Linked DNA regions of Homo sapiens: regions 1, 2, 4, 5, 6 and 7 are each linked to region 3. The links are contacts of gene promoters, found by promoter capture Hi-C in blood cells and fetal thymus (Javierre and others, 2016). All regions are on one chromosome and are shown on one strand. The core of a region is centred on a gene start or on the middle of the fragment in contact, and the rest is flanking DNA. Distances in the headings are between cores, read along the strand shown.

Region 1 (2,809 bases), core at 235-2,734, 690 kb before region 3:
ATTTAAGTATATTCATTAAATCTAACATATACTATACCTTGTGGGTTTTTTATTATTTTTGCAGGCAAAATTTAGTATATAGTGTTACTAGTCATGAAGAGCCATACTACTAGTTACTAGTCATGAAGAGCCATACTACTCTAATATCAAAGCCACCACAGTGGGGAAATTAAGGAAAGTGAGCATTTGGCATTATTAATTAGCCTCCTGATCACCATACAGACTCCTTCCTTTCCACCTCCCCTCTCCCAGTCCAGTGATTGTCAACTACAATTGATTGCACCTATGCAGTTCCCATCACTTCCTCCTTAGTAATGCTGCCACTACCCTAGTGAAGGCCTTTTGCACCTCTTGCCTTGGTTGCTGAATTAGCCTTTTAGCTGGAGTGCCTACTATAATTTTCTTCCTCTTCTTGTTCTCTTACGCATGGCTTCATGTATTTTCCCAAAGCACAACTCTGTTCCTCTTACTCTTTTTAAAAATATCCAGTCTCCAAACCCCTGAACCTTCTGTTGGAGGCCTTTTCCATCTCAACCTGGTGCGAGTCTCCAGTTTCCTTCTCCCTTATCCTCATCTCCTGTTGTATTTGCTGGGTTCTCTTTGTCAGGAGCAGTCTTTTCATCCTTTCAGTCCCCTTGTTTTAGAGTGCTTTTAAGTCAGCATGAAACTACCTGATGAACTGTCTTTCTGTTTAAGCTACTTTCTTTAAATTCCCTTCCACTGGAGTTTATCAAGGAATAATGTATATTCTACCAAGTATTGAAGCTTTGTATGTGCTGTCCTTATCTTCTCCATAAGTCAAACTAATGATTCATCTGACTGATCTTTGATTTTTTTTTCAGGGTAACACAATAATGAATAAGACAGACACCGTTTATCTTAAGGAACTTACAGTCTTTAAGAACTTGTGGCCTTAAGGAGATGATATTAAGTAATTTTAAAGATAGAGCATTGAAGTGGTAGGAGGTGGTGTGTGGTGGAGATACATGATCTTATGGGAGCATGTGATACTGGTTTTGATGCAGAAGACTTTTCTGCGTAGTGAGAATTGATCTGACATCTAAAGAGTATTAGCCAAAGAACTGTAGGGAAGTGCTATCTAGGCAGGGTGTATAGTATGAGCAAAGGCCCTGAAGTGGGCCAGAGTATGGCAAGTACAAATGACTGAAAGAAAGCCAGGGTAGTGAAATTGCAGTGTGTGGTCTATAAGATAAGGCTAAAGAGGTAGGTATAGCCAAATGGAGCCCATTATTGGGCTGGGGGTGGTGGCTCATACCTGTAGTCTCAGCACTTTGGGAGGCCAAGGCAGGACAATAGCTTGAGGCCAGAAGTTTGAGACCAGCTTGGACAACATAGTGGGACCTTGTCTCTACAAAAAAAATTTTAAAAATTAGCTGGGCATGGTGGCACGTGCTTATAGTCCCAGTACTCAGGAAGCTGAGGTGGGAGGATCACTTGAGCCCAGGAGTGCGAGGCTGCAGTTTGCTATGATCATGCCACTGCAGTCCAGCCTGGGTGACGAAGTGACACCGTATCTCAAAAATAAATAAATAAATAAATAAATAAATAAATAAATAGCTATTTTTTACCTTCAGATCAATGGAAAGCCACTGGACTGTTCTAAGTATGGTGATCAGATTCATGTTTATGTAGAGGATGAATTGGAGGGTAAAGGTGATGGGCAGTTGGTATGGGCAGTCTTGTTGTATTAGAACTGCAATAACAAATTAAATTCAAAATCTCAGTGACTTAACACAGTAAAGATTTGTCTCTGTCACGCAGAGTCCAGAAGGGTTGGGCAGCCTTCTCCTATCATGAAGTATGCTTACCAAGGTCATCTTGGTGGGAGAAAACAGAGCTTTAAGATCACTTTTATTTAACTTTTATTTAATTTTTGATGTTTTAAAAATCATTTTATTGTGGTAGGATTCACATCTAAAAAGCTGTATTTAGTGTATTTAAAGATCACTTTTAAAGGGCCAGGACTGGAAGTAGTTTACATAACTGGGCCCAGCTTGGCTGTTCAGAACTCAAATGGCTGTTCAGAACTCAGTCATACAGCCAACTCAGCTTGCCAGGAAGGCTGGGGAATGCAGTCTTTCCTGTTCAGCCAAGAAGAGAAAACAGTATGATGTATACATATCCTAATCTCCCTCCTCTGCAGCCACTTGAGGAGTTACTGCAGTCCAAGTAAGAGGCAATGGAAGCTTGGACTGAGGGTGAAATGAGATGAATGTATCAGAGAAAGATGAAAATCCAAAGAGTAAGATAATGGAGGAGTTGCTAAGAACATCTCTTAGGCTTGGAGCCTTATGTGACTAGGAGGGTGGTGATAGCTACTGAGAAAGGAAGACTGGTTAGAAATGGACCAGCTTGTTTTTTATTTTAGACATGTTGTGCATCACATGCCTTTGAGACACACAACTGGAGATGTGAGATAGGAAGTTGAATGTAAAGACTAGAAGCTCAGAAGAGCAGAAGTCTGAACTAAGTTTTGGCTTAGATGATTGAAAGCTTGAGCTTGGGTAAACTCTCTGAGGAAGAATGCAGAGTTCGTCCTTTCCTTCCACACTGCCATCAGCCTCTGCTTTCCACTGCATTGTCCTACCACCCTCACCCCTTGACCTCAGCTGACCTTTTGGAGGTCCCCAGAGCCCTTTTTCTTGTCCTTAGGTAGTTCCTTTTGGAACTCCCCGTCATAGCTGTTCTGAATTGTTAGTAGTAGTAGATTGGAGGAGTGCCCTCAAACCCATCCTACTCCTCCTGCCTTATACTTCACAGAGAAAATAGAATCTTTCAGACACAATTT
Region 2 (2,700 bases), core at 191-2,690, 650 kb before region 3:
GTAACTACTACCAAGGAGACTAAGGTGAAGAGTTTGAGCCCCAGCCCTGCAGACACCATCATCTGTCCCAGTCAAGGCTAGAAACGGGTGCCCAGTGTGGCACGGCCAGCCTGGGCCCATCCCCGCTATGCAGACAGGCTTGCTGGGCAGTGAACAGGGCACTGAGGCGGCCACTGCCCCGACTCACCTGCAGCTGCAGGACCTGCTTCTCGAAGGCAGCTGCCTTGGCTTCCAGAGCTTTCCGCTGCTGCTCATCTTGCCGCACAGCCTCTGACTTCTCCACCAGCTCTTTGCTGACCTTGCTGAGCTCCTGCCGAAGCTTGGCCAGCTCTGCGTTCTGCCTGCAAGACAGTCACCAGCCCGACTAATGGAAAGAAAAGGGTGATGGGATCGGTGGTCCAAGCCCTCCCTCCAGGACTCCAGCTCTCTTGTAAGTAAGCAGTTGCCCAAGTCTTGAAGCCATTACCAAAGCCACTTTTCCATTATCAGCTGTGTGGGGTTGGGCATGTGTTTTGTTGAAGACATTGTTTTACCTATATAGTGCATGAACCAGAGACAGCATAGAGCAAATGTGCACTAAAGCATCCCAGGGGAGCCCCTCCCAGAAACAGCCAGAAATTCACAGAAAACGGCAACACAGTTCTGGGTGCAAACCAGCCTTGAGATGAAGATCCACCCGCCTTGACGCCCTGTAGGCCTGTGGGCAGCAGCCCACGGAGTCCACGCGCCCCCTCACTGGCCAGCTGGACCAGGGCCAGGCTGGGGAGGCTGCCCAAAGCCAGAGCCTGAGGTGCTTACAAAACAGACCCTTCAGGACTGCACTTCAAAAGCTGGGTCTCAGGAGCTGGGAGGAATGTTCCGGAGTTACAGAAGGAGACTTAAAGGAAAAGGGGGCAGCTGGAGGCCTGCCTTTCCAGCGTAAGGCGTGTGATCAGGATGCCACTCCCTCACTAGCAGACGCTGCCTCAAGGCCAAAGACTGACTGTCCAACCAAGGGACACCACCAGACGAGACTGTCCCAAACCCTGGGACGCAGCACCAGGCCAGGCGGAGCTGGGAAACCGGGCTGAGGCTAGATTTGCTCTGCTGCCTGCGGGGTGGTGGGTCCCACCTCTCTGACTTGGGGGCTGCCTCGTCTGTACCGGGGAGGCCACACCAAAGCCCACTGTAGGTCCATCAGCTCCATGCTTCACAAGGCCAAGGTTCAAGTGACCTAGGAGGGAGGCGGAAGGTCGTGTGGTGCCCTCAAGATGGACTGGGAGCTCTGAAGTGGGCCTGGGAAAACACATCCCGCTGCTGAGAGCCACCCACCAGCCAGAGCTTCTGGACTGGCAGGGCCACTGCCTCAGCGTGACAAGTCTCCTGGCTTTAGAGCCTTACCCATTAAGGAGGCCACAGCAGATCCTATGTGGGGAGACGCCAGAGAATTTCTCAGTCCCCACATATGCCTTCTGCTGTGGCTTTTGGGGAAACAGCAGCCACAAACCTCCAACCAGCCGATGGCTCAGGAAGGGGACCCAGAGGGGACAGGCAGAGGGGAAGGCAGCTGCTGGATCTCACTCCACGTCAGAGGGAGCCATAGTCAAAACAGATACTTGGCCCAGCTCCCCTCCCTGTCCAGCTCCCACACTGGACTTCCCCTGACCCGACTCCCAGACAAGGACTAAGGGTGCCAGCGTGCTCTGCTGTGGTCAGCCCCTGCCTTGGTGAGAGCAGAGGCTTTCGGGATAACACAGAGCTCTGCCAAGTCCCTGCAGGACACTTCGGACCAGAGAAAGCAAAGAAATGTACAACTAAAGACACTGCAGTGGGTTTCTCGAGGGCTGCCACTGAGGGTGTAATGCTTAAATCAGGGAAGCAGAAGTGCGGCTGTACTCAACTCCGGAGGGGAAGTGCACCCTCCGGCCCACTTGCTGTGGGCTGCGGTGCTTCAGCAACTCAGAGACAACACTGAGATGAGAACCCCGCTAGGCAGGTGGGTGCTGGAAACCCTCCCTAGTACCAGTGCATCTGAAGCAAGGGTGTTGCAGAGCAGGAGGCTGTGCTCCAGGGCACAGTCGAGGCCCACCACCAGCCACCACAGGGACGCTGGGCCACCTGTTAGAAGACTCAGGGGCCCAGAACCCAGACGGGAGATGGAAGGTCAGGACGGCTCCGCACACATGTAGGGCCCATGCCTGGCTCTTGTGCCAGCTGCCCTGGCCGCAGCCTCGTGAAGCCTTCCTCGCTCCAGGGCCCTTGGGGAGGTGCTGAGGCAGGAAAGCTCAGCTTACTTGCTCTCCACCTGGCTCGTGGCCTGGTTCAAGGCATCCCGCAGGATGGAGTTCTCCTGCTGCAGGCGGGCCAGCTGCGTGTTGGGGCCATTCTCCAGCTGCTCCTGAAGAGTCCGGATCTGGAAAGTCACGGGCAAGGGCATCAGAGGCAGCTCGGCCTCACACACAGAACTGACTTCTGAGCAGTGGTTAGTGAAGACACAGCCCACAAAAGAAAACCCCCAAAAGCCTCCACCTTTTCCACGTGGAAGTTAAGAGGATCCCATAAAACAAGAGGCCTGAAAATTGCGAAGCTTAAGCGGCCAAGCATGACTCCCACACCCAGCGACACCTCTCTCCCTCCTCACTGCTCATGGCCTGCCCAAGGCTGAACACTCAGCCCAGGGTCTCTGACACACCCCATGAACATCTGCCTCCAAGGTCACAT
Region 3 (2,700 bases), core at 78-2,577:
TTCCAACTCCTCATCTTGCCTAATTCCTCAGGCAGCACCTCATCCTGTAAGTCTTCATTTCCAGGCTTAAGAGATGTCAGCCATCTGTGTCTTTATTGTACAGCCAGCACAAGTGAACACTTGAACACAGGCATCCCTGCATTGTTGTTCTGAACCTTTATGTGTATTAACAACTAATTTCTTGGTGATGACTGACTCATGAGGCAGAGAATGATGTTGAGGGATGAATCCAATTGACACTGGACATGTCTCCGGAGCCAGGACTGAACTGAATTCACAATAAATAATGTAGCCTCGGGGTACCAGAAGGGAATGGATTCACCCTCTGAGAGCTACAAAAGAATTTTAGGAAATTCTCATCTCCCTGGCCCTTCAGACAGTGGTCATTTTCTTGGTCTTCCAAGAGAATGACAAAGTTTCAGAAAGCCTATCTGAGGAAGGTGAAGGGCAGTGAGAGGGTGCACGGGTGGAAAAGCCCTCTCAAGAGTGACGTGGGCCTTCCCCTCGAGCTCCCCAGATGGGGCGTCCCAGATGGCACCAGCGCAATCTTGTTCTCAACCAGGATCCCGGACAAAGACCTAGAGATCCAAGCCGACGGCAGGCCAAGCTCTGGCCCGAGACTGAGGCTTCTGCTTCTCAGGAGATGAGAGTTTAACAATAACTTCGTGGATTTCAAAAAGAAGAAAAAGGTCTCAGGGCACCGGAAAAGGTGTATTCGGGTTGAGGGCGTGGGCTCAGAATCGGGTCTACCTCGTACGGGATGTGAGACTTCAGGCAGACTGCTCGGCCTTTTCAAGGCTTTAAATGGAGCTAAAGGGTATACGACATGACGTTCGCCCGGTGTTTAGGAATATGGGGCGTGACTTTCCAAGCAGGCGGCTGGAGCCAGGGAGACCACAGGCCGCTGCAACACAAACCAGCACCTGAACAAGCTTGGTCAGCCAGCGGTACACCTCCGCCAACCCCAGAAGCCGAACAGATGCGCCCCGAAACGTCATTTCCGCGCGCCAAGGGGCGGGGCCGGTACCGGGTGCGGAAGTCGCTCCAGGGGTCACTGGGAAGTGTAGTTTTCGAGACAGAGGCGCTCAGAAGGAGGGTCACAGTAGGGCCAGGCACTCTTCTCGGGAGCTCCTACGTGTTTTATGCACGTGGTTAAGAAAAAAGAGGGAGAATTCAGGTGCCACAGTGGCCATTCTCCGGTGACCGGAGCGTGTTACTCAGAAACGGATCCGTCAGAGGCCAATGGGAGCTGCCGGCCTTCAGGGCGCGCCTGGTGGCGCCGAGCATCCTGGGAGGTGTGGTCCGGGCGCTGTGCCGAGGATTCGGGGTAGTGTAGTCCTGGCGCCCCGCTGGAGGAGCTCCCCAGCTGGTGGCTGGAGCGACCCCTTGTTCTTTGGTGGCGCTGGTGAGTGAGGCTCCCGCGGGACCCTTGCCGCAGCCGTACCCTTTTCTGCGCGAAAAGGAAGGTCCCGAAAGGCTGGACTATGGGCTGAATTTGGGGACCGTGCGGGTGGCGCGGGGGTGGTGATTGTGGTGGGAACGCGCTGGCGTGGCGCAGGCCGTCCTCTCCCAGATGTCTTATTTTGGGGGTGTGGGCGTGCATCTCCAGGGGAGTTGGGTGAAGCCCATCCGTGAAACTGGATGGTGATGAGTGGGGGATCGGGCTCTCTCTCCTAGGGTTCTTGTGGGTGGGGACAGGTTCGGCTTTGGCTGAAGTCGGGTATTGGGAAAGGGAGTCGCTGATGCCATAAGTCCCCGGTTTTGGGGGAGTTGAATAAATAAGCTTTTTGGGGGAATGGTATTTCCCAGGTGGTGGAATGGGAACCATCCCTGGGGCCATGTGTCCCCGAGGCATTGGTCGGTTGAGGGCTAGTCTCTTGGGGCCACACTATTCTTCGGCTTTGCTGGAGTGGAATGAGGAGCGGTCTGGCTTGACCAAACAAGCCAAGGTTAGACTGGATCTGGGGTGGCCATTTTGCCGCGATCTTAGGGTTTCACTTTGGTTGGTCACCCCCGGGTTCGGGCGTTGGAGGAGGAAGTCTGGCTGGGACGCACAGGACAGGTTTTTTCCAAAGGTCCCAGGGACCGTCATTGATCGCAAGAATTACGGATTCCCAGGCCCCTGGTGTGGCCAGGCTTTGGGATTTTACATTCCATTTAAGTTTTTATTGCGGAGAAATTTCAAACAGCCAGAAGTAGATAGAACTCTATAGACCAGATCTCCATCACCCAGATTCAACACTTAAAACCTTATGACCAATCTTGATTCATCTCAGAATGGACACAGAGAATCCTTGCAATCCAGAGTTCACCGTCACTGCCCTTACTGTGTAAGAGCACGGTCTCCACAGCCACATTTCCTCTAGGCTCTGTCACTTTATAGCTGTGTCACCTTGGGCAAGATGCTGACTTCACTGTACCTCAGTTTCCTCGATTTTATCCTAAAGAGGATAATAGCATCTATCGTATTGGGTTGTTGAAAGGATAGAATGAGGTGAAACTCCTACAGTGGCTGTAACAGTCTCTGGTGTATACTAAGTGTTCAGTGAATATTACCTTTCATTAATAACAGGCACAGAGAAGGTCGCTTCATGCTCAGCGTCAACAGCATATCAGGGCAGGTCGTGCTTTCAACCTGTACCCCAGCTGTGTTCCCAGGAAGCTGCCCGCAGTTCTTTTCTCCTTTTCTTCTGTGGCAGG
Region 4 (2,714 bases), core at 67-2,566, 520 kb after region 3:
TGTGTTATATTCAGGTGTGTGCATTGGTCAACTCTCAGCAAATGTACACTTAAGATTTGTGCATTTCTTTGTGTGTAAATTTTACATGAAAAACTAAAGAAATATTGTACTGTAGTAAATGCTTTGCATACTCAAGTGTTTGGGGGCTACTGATACCTGTAATTTACTTTGAAACATAAAAATAAGATAAAAATAAGATGGAGAGCTTCAAACAAGTGTAATATAGTGCAATGATAGAATATTGGTGAATATTTGAGTGTTGACTGTAGAAATCTTTCAACTTTGCAAAATATGCCTAAAAATTTTAAGAATAAGATGTTGGAAAAATTGTATTCAATTAAGAAACCATGGAGAGAGTGCACACTCATTACAAACAAAGCAGAATATATAAAGTAAAAGGTGAAAGTCCTTTCCTTCTCCTCTCACTGCATCTGATACCCAGGTGCAGGCACCTTGTCTGAGGCCCTCACAGCAAGGGTAAACTCGGTGACATAGATTTGTTCCCATTCAGGGGATGGGGGTGGGTGACACTTCTTAATCCCATTCCCCTATTCTGTTTGACCCATCTGCCAGCCCGACACCTGTGAGTGAATACACCTGCCCAGGTGCTGGGTTGGCAAGTGGGAGATGGATTTGCAAACTTTCAGAAAGAAAGCCCCCAGCCACATTTTGTTCCCAATGAGGAGGCTGGCAAAAAAGGGAAATGACCTTTGTTATTGAAATGTAATGACACCAAAGCTCTCAAAAATGATGGGGTTTCTCCTTGTTGCCTTCCGAGGTGCAATGGAAGAAGCTGTGGGTACCTGTGGTGGGCACTTGTCGCTGTGCAACACCCTTTTCTTTCCTGTTACCCCAACTCCAATTCTGTCCAAGGGACGGGGAGCCCTGCTCAGGGGTGTGAATCCTGATGGACATGTGATTCAGTCCTTGCCAGTGAGACCAGTGGAGGCCTTGGGACCTTTTCTTTCTGGTAAGCAATAGGTCCAAGGAGAGGTCTTTTTTGTCCCTTTGGCTTGGGCTGCTGTCTTCTGAGGATGTGATGGAAGGAGCCATGGCAGCCAGGCAGCCGTGAAGTGACAAACTGGGGACAAAAGGCAACACATTGAGGATGGTAGAATGCAAGAGTGGACACAGCACAGAGGTCTTGGCTGACCTCTCCAAGCCATAGTAGAAAAACCCAATTTTCAGACCTTGGAGGGCCTGTTATAACCCCAGTTGCTGGCATGATGGTTCACTTTATGTGTCAACTTGACTGGGCCATGGGATCCCCAGACCAGAGGTAAAACATTATTTCAGAGAGTGTCCATGGAAGCATTTCTAGAAGGAGGGGACAGCACTTGAATTGGTGGACTGAGTAAGGCAGATGGCCATCCCCAATGTGGGAGGCATCATCCCATCTATTGAGGGTCTTAATGGGACAAAAAGTGAGGGGAAGGTGGAACTCAGCCTCTCTGCCAGGCCTGAGACGTGGATCTTCTCCTGCCTTTGGACATCTGGGGTCCTGGTCCAGGACTTACACCAACCCCCGCCGCCCCCCAGTCCAGGCCTTCGGACCTGGAATGAATTACACCCCCTGTCTGTGTCCCTTGTTTGCATGTGGGACTTCTTGACCTCCAAAACCATGTGACCCAGTTCCTATAATAACTCCTTTCATCTCTCTCTCTATATATCATATTGGTTCTTTTTCTTTGGAGAACCCTGATTAATACAGCCGGGTCCCCTCCCCAGAGTTTTTGATTCAGCAGATCTGGCATGGGGCCTGAGAATGTGCATTTCTAATGAATCCCTAGGTGGAGTTGATGCCACTGGCCTGGGGACCCCATTTTGGGACCACTGAATTGAACCATTATCAGTTTTTATGGTAGTGGTTGTTACTTGAAGCTAAAAGCATCCTATTTAATAAAATGGTTTTGCAATTTTTTATTTTTAAATTTTAATTTAATTGTATTTCTTAGGGAACAGATCTCCATGCCTCTCACATTCCTTTAAAGCATTTGAAGAATTCAGAAACAAAAAGCTACAAATCTGCTGGGACCAGATCCTTGGGTCTGAATGGCAACCAAAGGGGAAAGAATCTCAACAGGGCTGAGGAAGATTGTGTCCAGTTGCAGGGTGCGTGTTTTCAAGATGCCAATGGGGTGGCAGTCAAGGTAGGAGAAGCAGCCTGCCACGGTGCAGGTAACAAGGCAGTAGTATCTGTTGAGAATTTAAATAATAAAACTGACTAGACAGTGTCTCTACTTTTATTATTTCTATTGGAGGACAATTCTAAAGAATGTCGTTGGGGAAGTGCTCCCTTGAGTCCTGGCATGTTTTGGATTTCTTATGTATGAGCTGTGGAACTGCATTCCCCTCGGACACACTGTGGCAGGAGAATGACAGCCCTATTGGGGACCTGCCTGAATAATTTAGATGGGACGGCGCTGTCTTTGAGGAAAATGAGATACGGGCAGTGGTGGGGCTCAGTTCTTTGTTGACTGCTTATAGTGAACTTGCTGGGGAATTCCTGCCCTCCTCATTTTAAAATCTCTGTGCTGATGTTGTCCATACCTGGTGACCTCATGGCAAGAACATGGTTTTGGAAGACACTGGGCTTTGTTTAACTGCTCAGCTTTGATAACAGCAGCTCATCCATCTTTGCAAATGTACTTTGAAGCCTTTTTCATTCTTCTGCAACATTCCCAGAAAGAACGAAGTTTCCAGCAACTCCATAT
Region 5 (2,700 bases), core at 116-2,615, 810 kb before region 3:
ACATTCTTTGACAATATTGTGGGCTTCCTCAGCATTGAGGCCAACCTCGTCGCAGTGGCGATGGTACTCCTCCATGGTAGCGCCTGTTCTCCCTGGGGGCGGAGCTACGCCTGTGCCTGGTATTTCATACATGGTCTTATTTAACCACACAAGAATCATACGGCCGGGCGCGGTGGCTCACGCCTGTAATCTCAGCACTTTGGGAGGCCGAGGCAGGCGGATCACAAGGTCAGGAGATCGAGACCATCATGGCTAACACGGTGAAACTCCGTCTTTACTAAAAATATAAATAATTACCCGGGCACAGTGGAGGGCGCCTGTAGTCCCAGCTACTCGAGAGGCTGAGGCAGGAATGGCGTGAACCCGGGAGGCGGAGCTTGCAGTGAGCCGAGATGGCGCCACTGCACTCCAGCCTGGGCGACAGAGCAAGACTCCGTCTCAAAAAAAAAAAAAAAAAAAAAAAAAGAACTATCCACAATGACAGTGAAACTTCGAGTGCTTAAATAACCTGCCCAAGCTCTCATGAGCAGTAAACATAGAAGCAGAATTCTAATCCAAATGGGTTTATTCTCAAAGTCTGGAGTCTTGATGTTACACCACGCAATCCTCAAATGCGGTTTCCTTTTTTCCTTCTTTCTACTGCAAGAACCTTTGAGCTTCTCCCACTCCAAGAAGGCCATCTCCAGAAAGGAGATTGCCTGTAAGGACAGCCTAGAGAGTACTTGGGCTTAACCTCGCTCCAACTCTCGCCAAAGACTCCCCCAAAGTCTCCTGATCATTCATTGGACTGCCTTTCACTGGAATTAATTTACCCATTTTCAGCTTTTCTTTTTTTTTTTTTTTTTTTTTTTGAGGCAGAGTCTCGCTCTGTCACCCAGGCTGGAGTGCAGTGGCGCGATCTCGGCTCACTGCAAGCTCCGCCTCCCGGGTTCAAGCCATTTTCCCGCCTCAGCCTCCCAAGTAGCTGGGACTACAGGCGCCCACCACCAAGCCCGGCTAATTTTTCGTATTTTTAGTAGAGACAGGGTTTCGCCATGTTAGCCATGATGGTCTCGATCTCCTGACCTCATGATCCGCCCGCCTCGGCCTCCCAAAGTGCTGGGATTACAGGCGTGAGCCACTGCGCCCGGCCCAGCTTTTCTTAATGGTAGTAATGGCAGTCATATTAGCAACAGCTTCTATTTATCAAAGCACTTAGCACTTTGAAAGAAAGACATTATGAGTTCCTGCCTCAGTCTGGGTTGTCCCAGAAGTCCAACCTGAGACAAGACTTGGGTGCTGACAGTTTTTTGAGAAATGATCCCAGGTAACACAAGTGAGGAATTGGAGATGTAAAATAAGGAAGGGGAGAAAAGCCAATGAAGAGTGCATTAATGAGCGAGTTGCCACCGTGGGCAGCTGAGCTCAGTCCCACTAGGGACACTGAGTTGTCACGCTGAGGAATAGAGAAACCGGGGTAAAAACCTGTCAGTCACTGGGAGAGAGCTACCCCTCAAAGGTTAAATCCCTGCCACCTTTGGGCCGCCCTGCACGCAGGCTGTGCAGGCTTCCACGGAGGTGGGAGGAAGCCCAGGGGGAACACGGGGAGATTCTCGTGCCTGGGGTGGGAAGCAGTGGACGTGCAAGGGAGCTTCAGCTGCAGGTGAACTCAGAAGGGACTTAGGAGACTCAGGAGGGACATCACAGCATCTACTACATTCTCCTTCCACACAGAAGGTTCCAAGCGTAAGTAACTTGCTCACAGCCGGGCGTGGTGGCTCACACCTGTAATCCCAGCACTTTGGGAGGCCAAGGCAGCTGGATCACTTGAGGCCAGGAGTTCAAGACCAGCCTGGCCAACATGGTGAAACTCCGTCTCTACTAAAAATACAAAAAATTAGCCAGGCGTGGTGGCACATGCCTGTAACCCTGGCTACTGGGGAGGCTGAGGCATGAGAATCACTTGAACCCAGGAGCTGAAGGTTGCAGTGAGCTGAGATCACACCACTGCACTCCAGCCCGGGCAACAGAGTGGGACCCTGTCTCAAAAGACAAAAAAAAAAAAAAAAAAAAAAAAAAGAGATAAGTAACTTACTCAGGCTCACACAGCCAGTGTGGGAACTAAACCCAGGTCTGATTGATCAACCCCAAAGCCCTTGCCCTTTCCGCCACCTGAAGCTGCCCTCAAAATCCCTTGTAAGGTGCACCCACCACTGCTTATCCTATCTCCTCTTCACTCTGCCCTCAGGAAAATACCATCCACTGGCAAGTTGGTGCTGACACTCACAACCGACGCCTGTGAGGGGAAGGAAAATTTTGTCCGCTACCTGGAGCATGTCCAGGCTGTCATCACGGTCAACGCAACCAGAAGAGGAGACCTGAACATCAACATGACTTCCCCTATGGGCACCAAGTCCATTTTGCTGAGCCGGCGTCCAAGGGATGACGACTCCAAGGTGGGCTTTGACAAGTGGCCTTTCATGACCACTCACACGTGGGGGGAAGACGCCCGAGGCACCTGGACCCTGGAGCTGGGATTTGTCGGCAGCGCCCCGCAGAAGGGGGTGCTGAAGGAGTGGACCCTGATGCTGCATGGCACTCAGAGTGCCCCGTACATCGACCAGGTGGTGCGGGATTACCAGTCCAAGTTGGCCATGTCCAAGAAAGAGGAGCTGGAGGAAGAGCTGGACGAAGCCGTGGAGAGAAGCCTGAAAAGCATCC
Region 6 (2,850 bases), core at 179-2,678, 770 kb before region 3:
GCTTAGAATTTCTGGGGCTGGGGCCCAGGAGTCTGGGTTTTAACGTGCCCCCCCACCCCGCCCACCTTTCACCCCAGGTAACACTGATGCACACTGAAGTTTTAGAACCACTAATCTAGACTATTTACAGCCATGTTTTTAGAAAGGAGCTGGAGAAATAACTAGAATTTGGAGCATTATTGAAAATCAGCCCTTTTTTAACTCAAATGGTGGGGATTAAAAAGGAAAAAAAACAGCCTTGCTGACCTATTCACAGGGATCCCAGAAACTCCATTTAAAACCCAACTGCTAAAGAATGGGTATTTAAGTTCATTAAGAGTTCTAGTTAGCTGGAATTTAATTAAAAAACACTTTTCCTTCAACTCTGGATGTCAAAAACCTTTCCAAAAATGTTATGGCTGTTCTTCCAGGTGCTAATGTTGGCCTGGAGGGCACTGGACAAATTCTACATCTCTCCACCCTCTCTCTTGCCTCTGCCTCAGTCTCCTCAACTTTGCTGTCTCTCCCTTTGCATTCATCCTGACTCTTCCTCCACTCCTCTTGCCTCTCCACCCCCAGACTCCTCCTCTTCCTTCCCAGTTTCCTCTCCTTCTCTTCTCCGGAAGTTCATTTCCGGGCTCAGAGGAATTCTTGGCATACAAAGGCATAGCCCTGAAGGTAGGGCTTCATGCCTGCACCATTTTATCCCCTAAACTCCCTGGCCTCTTGCTGCTTTCCACAGGCACGTTTAAGAGACACATGAATTACATGAAAAAGTATATATGTCAGCCTTTAAATATTTTTAAAATTGTTTTTAAGTGAAAGCATTTGACTAGAAACCACATCATTTTAAAATTCTGGGAATTTTAAAGAGAAAAGGAGAGGGAGATTTTAAAGTCTGCTGCTTACAGTTTCCTCAAGATAAGCAAATCAGGCATCATAGCAGACCAGTAACTTCATACGTATATATTTGGTGACCATGAGATCTAGAAGTTAGCAAACCCAAATATTTTAAAGTCACCTGGAATTCCTACTACATCAAAAGGCTGAGAAGTTGAATAACTTTGGCCATAGGTTGTAGGTAACGTGTTGAGGAGTTTACTTCACTTCTAAGTGCACAGCAAAGAGTGGCCTACTATAATTTATCTGGCTGATAAAACTACAGGAGCTCTTTCCGTAGGCTTGATTACACGGGCAGCATGAAGAAATGCATGGTGGTTTTGTGAAGGCAGGGGCCATCAGTCCTTTCACATACACTGCAATATCCTCCAAGTAGGATGCAAAGACTGGATCAGTGATGTCCCACGGCCACACCCAGGGATGAATCCCTTCCACAAGTCAGACCAAAGGAAATGGCCACTGAGACTGAGCTAAAACCTCGTTGATCTGATGTAAGAAAATACCCAAAACCTGCAGGCCAAAATCACTCACACGACCAGCTGATGCGATGTGAATTTTAGCCTCTTTCATGTCATCTGATGATCTCAGCAGAGAACAAAAAGGTCCAGTGTTCACCTGGCCCTGCCCTTGAGGGACTATTTGGGTTCTCCAGAAGTGGACCCCAAGGCAAAGACTGGGTACCTGTGGCTTATCTGGGAGGTGATCCCAGGAAGCACAGGTAAGGGAGGCTAGTGAGCCAGAGAAGGAAACAAAACCAATGAAGGAATGTGACGAGCAGGTTGCCATTGTAGACAGCTCAGTACGGCTGGGGTCCCTCTGAGGGACCATGTGGAATGTGGCTCTGAACCATCACTATGAGGGGTGGGGAACTTATCCACCTATCCCAGTCCACAGCAACTGAGGGTTGTTCCTGGGGTGTTAACACCCAGCGCTTCTGGACTATACTGATGTGGGCCATGCATGTTCCCAGAGCCCGAGATGCAGGCAGTGATCAGGGTGTTCAGCGTGTCTGAGTGACCACTGGCATGGCCCAAGGTGTGTGGACAGGACACCAACATCAAGGTCCATGGGGCCACCTATAGCCGAGAACTCTCTGGCTTCGTGTCTGGCCTCTGAGTAATACCGGTTCCCTGACTATTCTTTGGAGGTAGAGAATGAACCACAAATACAAAAGACCCCAACTCCTGTCTACACTTACCACGGCTGAGCTGCGAGGCTCTGAAGTCATTTAACCTCATCAAGGGTGAGTTTCCTCACTGGCCCAGAGAAGGATTTGGAATAGGTCATTTCTGAGAATAAAACCTGCCCCCCCAATAACCACGGGCTGTTCTGAGGCTCCCACAGGCTTGCACAAGGCCCTCCCCAGCGTCCTGCATCTGCCTGCTGTGTTTATGATTTCTACTATTATCCAAGGACCACCTGCATCTTATTCACTCTGTATTTGTCTTTAAAGGTACTCATTCTTACGTAGGTTTATTTGGAAAGGAATATTTTATGTCATCCGCTGTAAATAACAGGTAATCATAAAAAATTCACAACTATTAAATATCACTCCTCCATGCACTTTCTAAAGTCACCTCCCATTTCAACAGGGTTCTGCACCCACACTGTGGAGAAAACCAAGCTGGTGTCTGTCACATCAAGTGCTCTGTAGTAATAACAGTGATCAGGGATTCAGCACCACCAGGTGATGGGCAAGTCATATACATTATTACATCATTTAGTTCTCACTAGGCACTTTCACTCCTATGGTGGGTGGGGAGTATTGTGATTCCATTTCACAGATGAAAAAACCGAGGCTCAGAGGGACAAGGCAATTGGCCCACAGTCTCACAGATGCTCAGCTGTAGCAGGAGGTTCCTAGTCACAGGCTACACTCCTCGCTGGGGCTCTGCAGCTCACCTGCGGGCAGTACTGTCTTACTTGGACCCAGGGGCCAGTCATGCTAATTGCCTGTGCTGGTCTCACCCA
Region 7 (2,862 bases), core at 337-2,836, 790 kb before region 3:
TTAGAGTAGTCAACCCAGGCTGAAGTATTTAGGGCAAACAGAGTATGATATCTCCAACTTAAGATATATGTATATATACGTGTATGTATATATATATACACACACACACGTATATATACGTGTGTATATATATATACACGTATATATACGTATATATATACACACACGTATGTATATATGTGTGTATATATGTATATGTGTGTGTATATGTATATATACGTATATATATACGTGTATATATATACGTATATATACATATACACACACATATATACATATATACATATATCTACTCATATATACGTATATACATATATACATATACATGTACACACACACATCATATATAAATAGAGAAAAAATGATAAAGCAATTGAGATAAAATATAAACAACTGGTGAATCTGGAGTATTCAGGAGTTCCTTGTTCTATTCTTGCAACATTTCTATCAATTTAAAATTAGACCAAAATCAGAACTTATAGATAAATAAAAGAGGTATCCAGTCACCTTTCTGTGAAGCCCTGTCCCAAAACAAAAATGTTTACAAAGTCACCGAAATGCCAGCTCCAGACTTATTCTTGCAGATGTGTGCATAGTGTTCACTGTGACATAAATATAATGTGGAATCATGCCAGATACACCGACCAGCACTGGAGAAAGAAAAATAAAATCCTGCTTCTCCTGCCAAGCATTCGAGTGCTCACAGCCAAGAGAGAGCACCCAGCGCGAAGGGAAGAGCTGCTCCTGGTGGGGACCTCAGTTGTGGGGGGCTTCTCTTTTCATTCAGTCGAAACCCAGGAATTTAGCAAGACTGAAGTGAAGAATCACAAATTAATTCCCAACCCGTTCTCTGGAAATCACCGTAGCTATGAATACCAGCATAGCTGGAGAGAAAGAGAGAATTTCCCAGCTTTCTTAAAGTGAGTAGGGATCGACTCACAGCTCCATTATGGAGAAGACCAGACAGCCACATAGTCACAGCCACAGACTGACTCAGCAAGGTGCTAAGAATTGTGAGGATGGCAGCAGGAGCATCACCAACACCTCTGAGTGCCCTCAAGTGCCAGGCTCCGTGCCACGTAGCTCACCTGCAGCACCTCATTAAATACTCCTGGGCATCCCACCTGCTGGGACACTTATGTCCCCAGAGGCCTATGAGCAAAACACAGGCTTCTCAGTGAGGCCTTTTCTGACCACCCTACTTAAAACTGCAAGCATTCCCCCATCACCCCTATTGCCACCACCCTCCTCCCTGCGGGAACTTCCTCCTCAGCACTGGTCGTACCTTCATCCTCTGTCTCCCCTACTAGTTATCCAACACCCATGGGGTCAGGAATTGTTCTGTTTCCTTCCCTGACACATGCCCACTGCCTATAACTGTGCCTGGCACACAATAGGCACTCAATAAAGAGTTGTGGAAGGAATAAGTGGCCTGGATGGGGAGGGCACACGCTCACCTGTTGCCTTCAATCTCGATGATACGATGATACCGGTCCAGCTCATTCTTCAGGGTTTGCTGGGCGACCGCCAGCTGCCGGCAGTCGTAAGAAGACTTCTCCAGGACCCGCTCTGTCTCCTCAATCTCCTTGCGCAGTGTCTCAATCTGCTCGTTATAAAGCTGAATCTCATCGTCATAACACTCATGGGCACTTTTAATAGCTTGTTCCAGAGTTGTTGTCTGTGGGCAAGGACACGCTGTAAGAAAATCCATCCCCCTTCTTCTCTAAGAGACAGACCTCACCAGGAAAAGGAACCTGGACTCGGTGAATGTTTTATGTTGTTTGTGTGTTTCTCTGTCCATTCGAGATTAGCAATGAATCACTTTGGAATCCTTAAGCTAAAAAGCAATGTGAAAACTGAGCTCCTGTGTCCTTACACAATTTTTTTTTTTTTTTTTTTTGATAGAGGATCTCACTTTGTCACCAGGCTGGAATGCAGGAGTGCAATCTCGGCTCACTGCATCCTCGACCTCCCAGGCTAAAGGCTTCCACCTCAGCCTCCTGAGTAGCTGTGACTACAGGCAAGCACCAACATGCTGGGCTTTTTTTTTTTTTTTTTTTTTTTGGTAGTGATAGGGTCCCACTTCGTTGCCCAGGCTGGTTTCAAACTCCTGGCTTCAAGTGATCCTCCCACCTCAGCCTCCCAAAGTGCTGGAATTACAGGTGCGAGTCACCGCACCCAGCCCTTCTTGCACTAATATCAGCACCCTCTGCAATTAGTCCATAAGGAGGCCCACCCCAAAGGCAGTCTGAAGACAAACCTAGAAAATAAAACGAAACCTAGGCCAGGTGGCTCACACTTGTAATCCCAGAACTTTGGGAGGCCGAGGCTAGCAGATCACTTGAGGTCAGGAGTTTGAGACCAGCCTGGCCAACATAGTGAAACCCCATCTCTACTAAAAATACAAAAATTAGCTGGGAGTGGTGGCACACGCCATAATCCCAGATACTTGGGAGGCTGAGGCAGGAGAATCACTTGAACCTGGGAGGCAGAGGCTGCAGTGAGCCAAGACCACACCATTGCACTCCAGCCTGGGCAACAGAGCAAGACTCTGTCTAAAAGAAAAAGAAAAAAAACTTGCTATCGGTGGAATAATATGTATAATTCAAATAAAGTACATTCTTCAGACTTTAATGAACAAGCATAAATCTGATAGCAAAAAAATAAGTAAAAAGAAGCACATACTAAATAGATAAGATGCTACCTTTATTGAAATACTGAGTGGGAGAAAAGTTTCCTTGTTCTCATTCAGCTTTGATTTTCTCCCGAGTTTGGATCGGCAGAGTTACATTTATGTTTTGGTAGCTAAGGTGTATGTGTGTGCCCTTGTGTACACATAAAATAATGTCAGAGAAATACAGT

What was found. Contacts are between HindIII fragments. The CHiCAGO score rates a contact against its expected background, and 5 or more counts as called.
Region 1: a contact is called between a fragment that was not itself captured here and the fragment with the promoter of ZNF133 in region 3, in 2 of 17 cell types (activated CD4 T cells and fetal thymus). The highest score is 6.2, in activated CD4 T cells.
Region 2: a fragment that was not itself captured here is called in contact with the fragment with the promoter of ZNF133 in region 3 in 1 of 17 cell types (fetal thymus); the score reaches 5.2 in fetal thymus.
Region 4: a contact is called between a fragment that was not itself captured here and the fragment with the promoter of ZNF133 in region 3, in 2 of 17 cell types (activated CD4 T cells and naive CD4 T cells). The highest score is 5.2, in activated CD4 T cells.
Region 5: a fragment that was not itself captured here is called in contact with the fragment with the promoter of ZNF133 in region 3 in 1 of 17 cell types (M0 macrophages); the score reaches 5.4 in M0 macrophages.
Region 6: a fragment that was not itself captured here is called in contact with the fragment with the promoter of ZNF133 in region 3 in 6 of 17 cell types (naive CD8 T cells, fetal thymus, naive B cells and 3 more); the score reaches 7.9 in naive CD8 T cells.
Region 7: a contact is called between a fragment that was not itself captured here and the fragment with the promoter of ZNF133 in region 3, in 13 of 17 cell types (M2 macrophages, fetal thymus, M0 macrophages and 10 more). The highest score is 12.2, in M2 macrophages.

Annotation. Positions count from the first base shown.
Region 1 is chr20:17,592,543-17,595,351 of GRCh38, forward strand. All of the region lies in intron 1 of DSTN (destrin, actin depolymerizing factor), which reads left to right. Among named protein-coding and RNA genes, the nearest start is that of DSTN, 24 kb to the left of the region's middle. The HindIII fragment of the contact is 1,442 bases long and covers 764-2,205 here.
Region 2 is chr20:17,633,273-17,635,972 of GRCh38, forward strand. RRBP1 (ribosome binding protein 1) reads right to left here. Exons shown (of 25, transcript NM_001365613.2): 7 at 2,274-2,392; 8 at 188-341. Among named protein-coding and RNA genes, the nearest start is that of RRBP1, 48 kb to the right of the region's middle. RefSeq lists an enhancer at 2,596-2,700. The HindIII fragment of the contact is 2,247 bases long and covers 318-2,564 here.
Region 3 is chr20:18,287,200-18,289,899 of GRCh38, forward strand. It overlaps ZNF133 (zinc finger protein 133), which reads left to right and starts at 1,328. Exons shown (of 7, transcript NM_001352452.2): 1 at 1,328-1,405. RefSeq lists enhancers at 901-950, 1,030-1,935, 1,041-1,380, 1,941-2,060. The HindIII fragment of the contact is 851 bases long and covers 931-1,781 here.
Region 4 is chr20:18,809,035-18,811,748 of GRCh38, forward strand. SCP2D1-AS1 (SCP2D1 antisense RNA 1) reads right to left here. Exons shown (of 3, transcript NR_161343.1): 3 at 317-1,081. Among named protein-coding and RNA genes, the nearest start is that of SCP2D1, 3.4 kb to the right of the region's middle. The HindIII fragment of the contact is 6,321 bases long and covers 1-2,714 here.
Region 5 is chr20:17,479,357-17,482,056 of GRCh38, forward strand. It overlaps PCSK2 (proprotein convertase subtilisin/kexin type 2), which reads left to right. Exons shown (of 12, transcript NM_002594.5): 12 at 2,228-2,700. It also overlaps the pseudogene DYNLT3P1. Among named protein-coding and RNA genes, the nearest start is that of BFSP1, 51 kb to the right of the region's middle. The HindIII fragment of the contact is 2,946 bases long and covers 1-2,700 here.
Region 6 is chr20:17,520,164-17,523,013 of GRCh38, forward strand. All of the region lies in intron 2 of BFSP1 (beaded filament structural protein 1), which reads right to left. Among named protein-coding and RNA genes, the nearest start is that of BFSP1, 9.8 kb to the right of the region's middle. The HindIII fragment of the contact is 3,250 bases long and covers 1-2,850 here.
Region 7 is chr20:17,497,363-17,500,224 of GRCh38, forward strand. BFSP1 (beaded filament structural protein 1) reads right to left here. Exons shown (of 8, transcript NM_001195.5): 6 at 1,458-1,678. Among named protein-coding and RNA genes, the nearest start is that of BFSP1, 33 kb to the right of the region's middle. The HindIII fragment of the contact is 3,679 bases long and covers 1-2,862 here.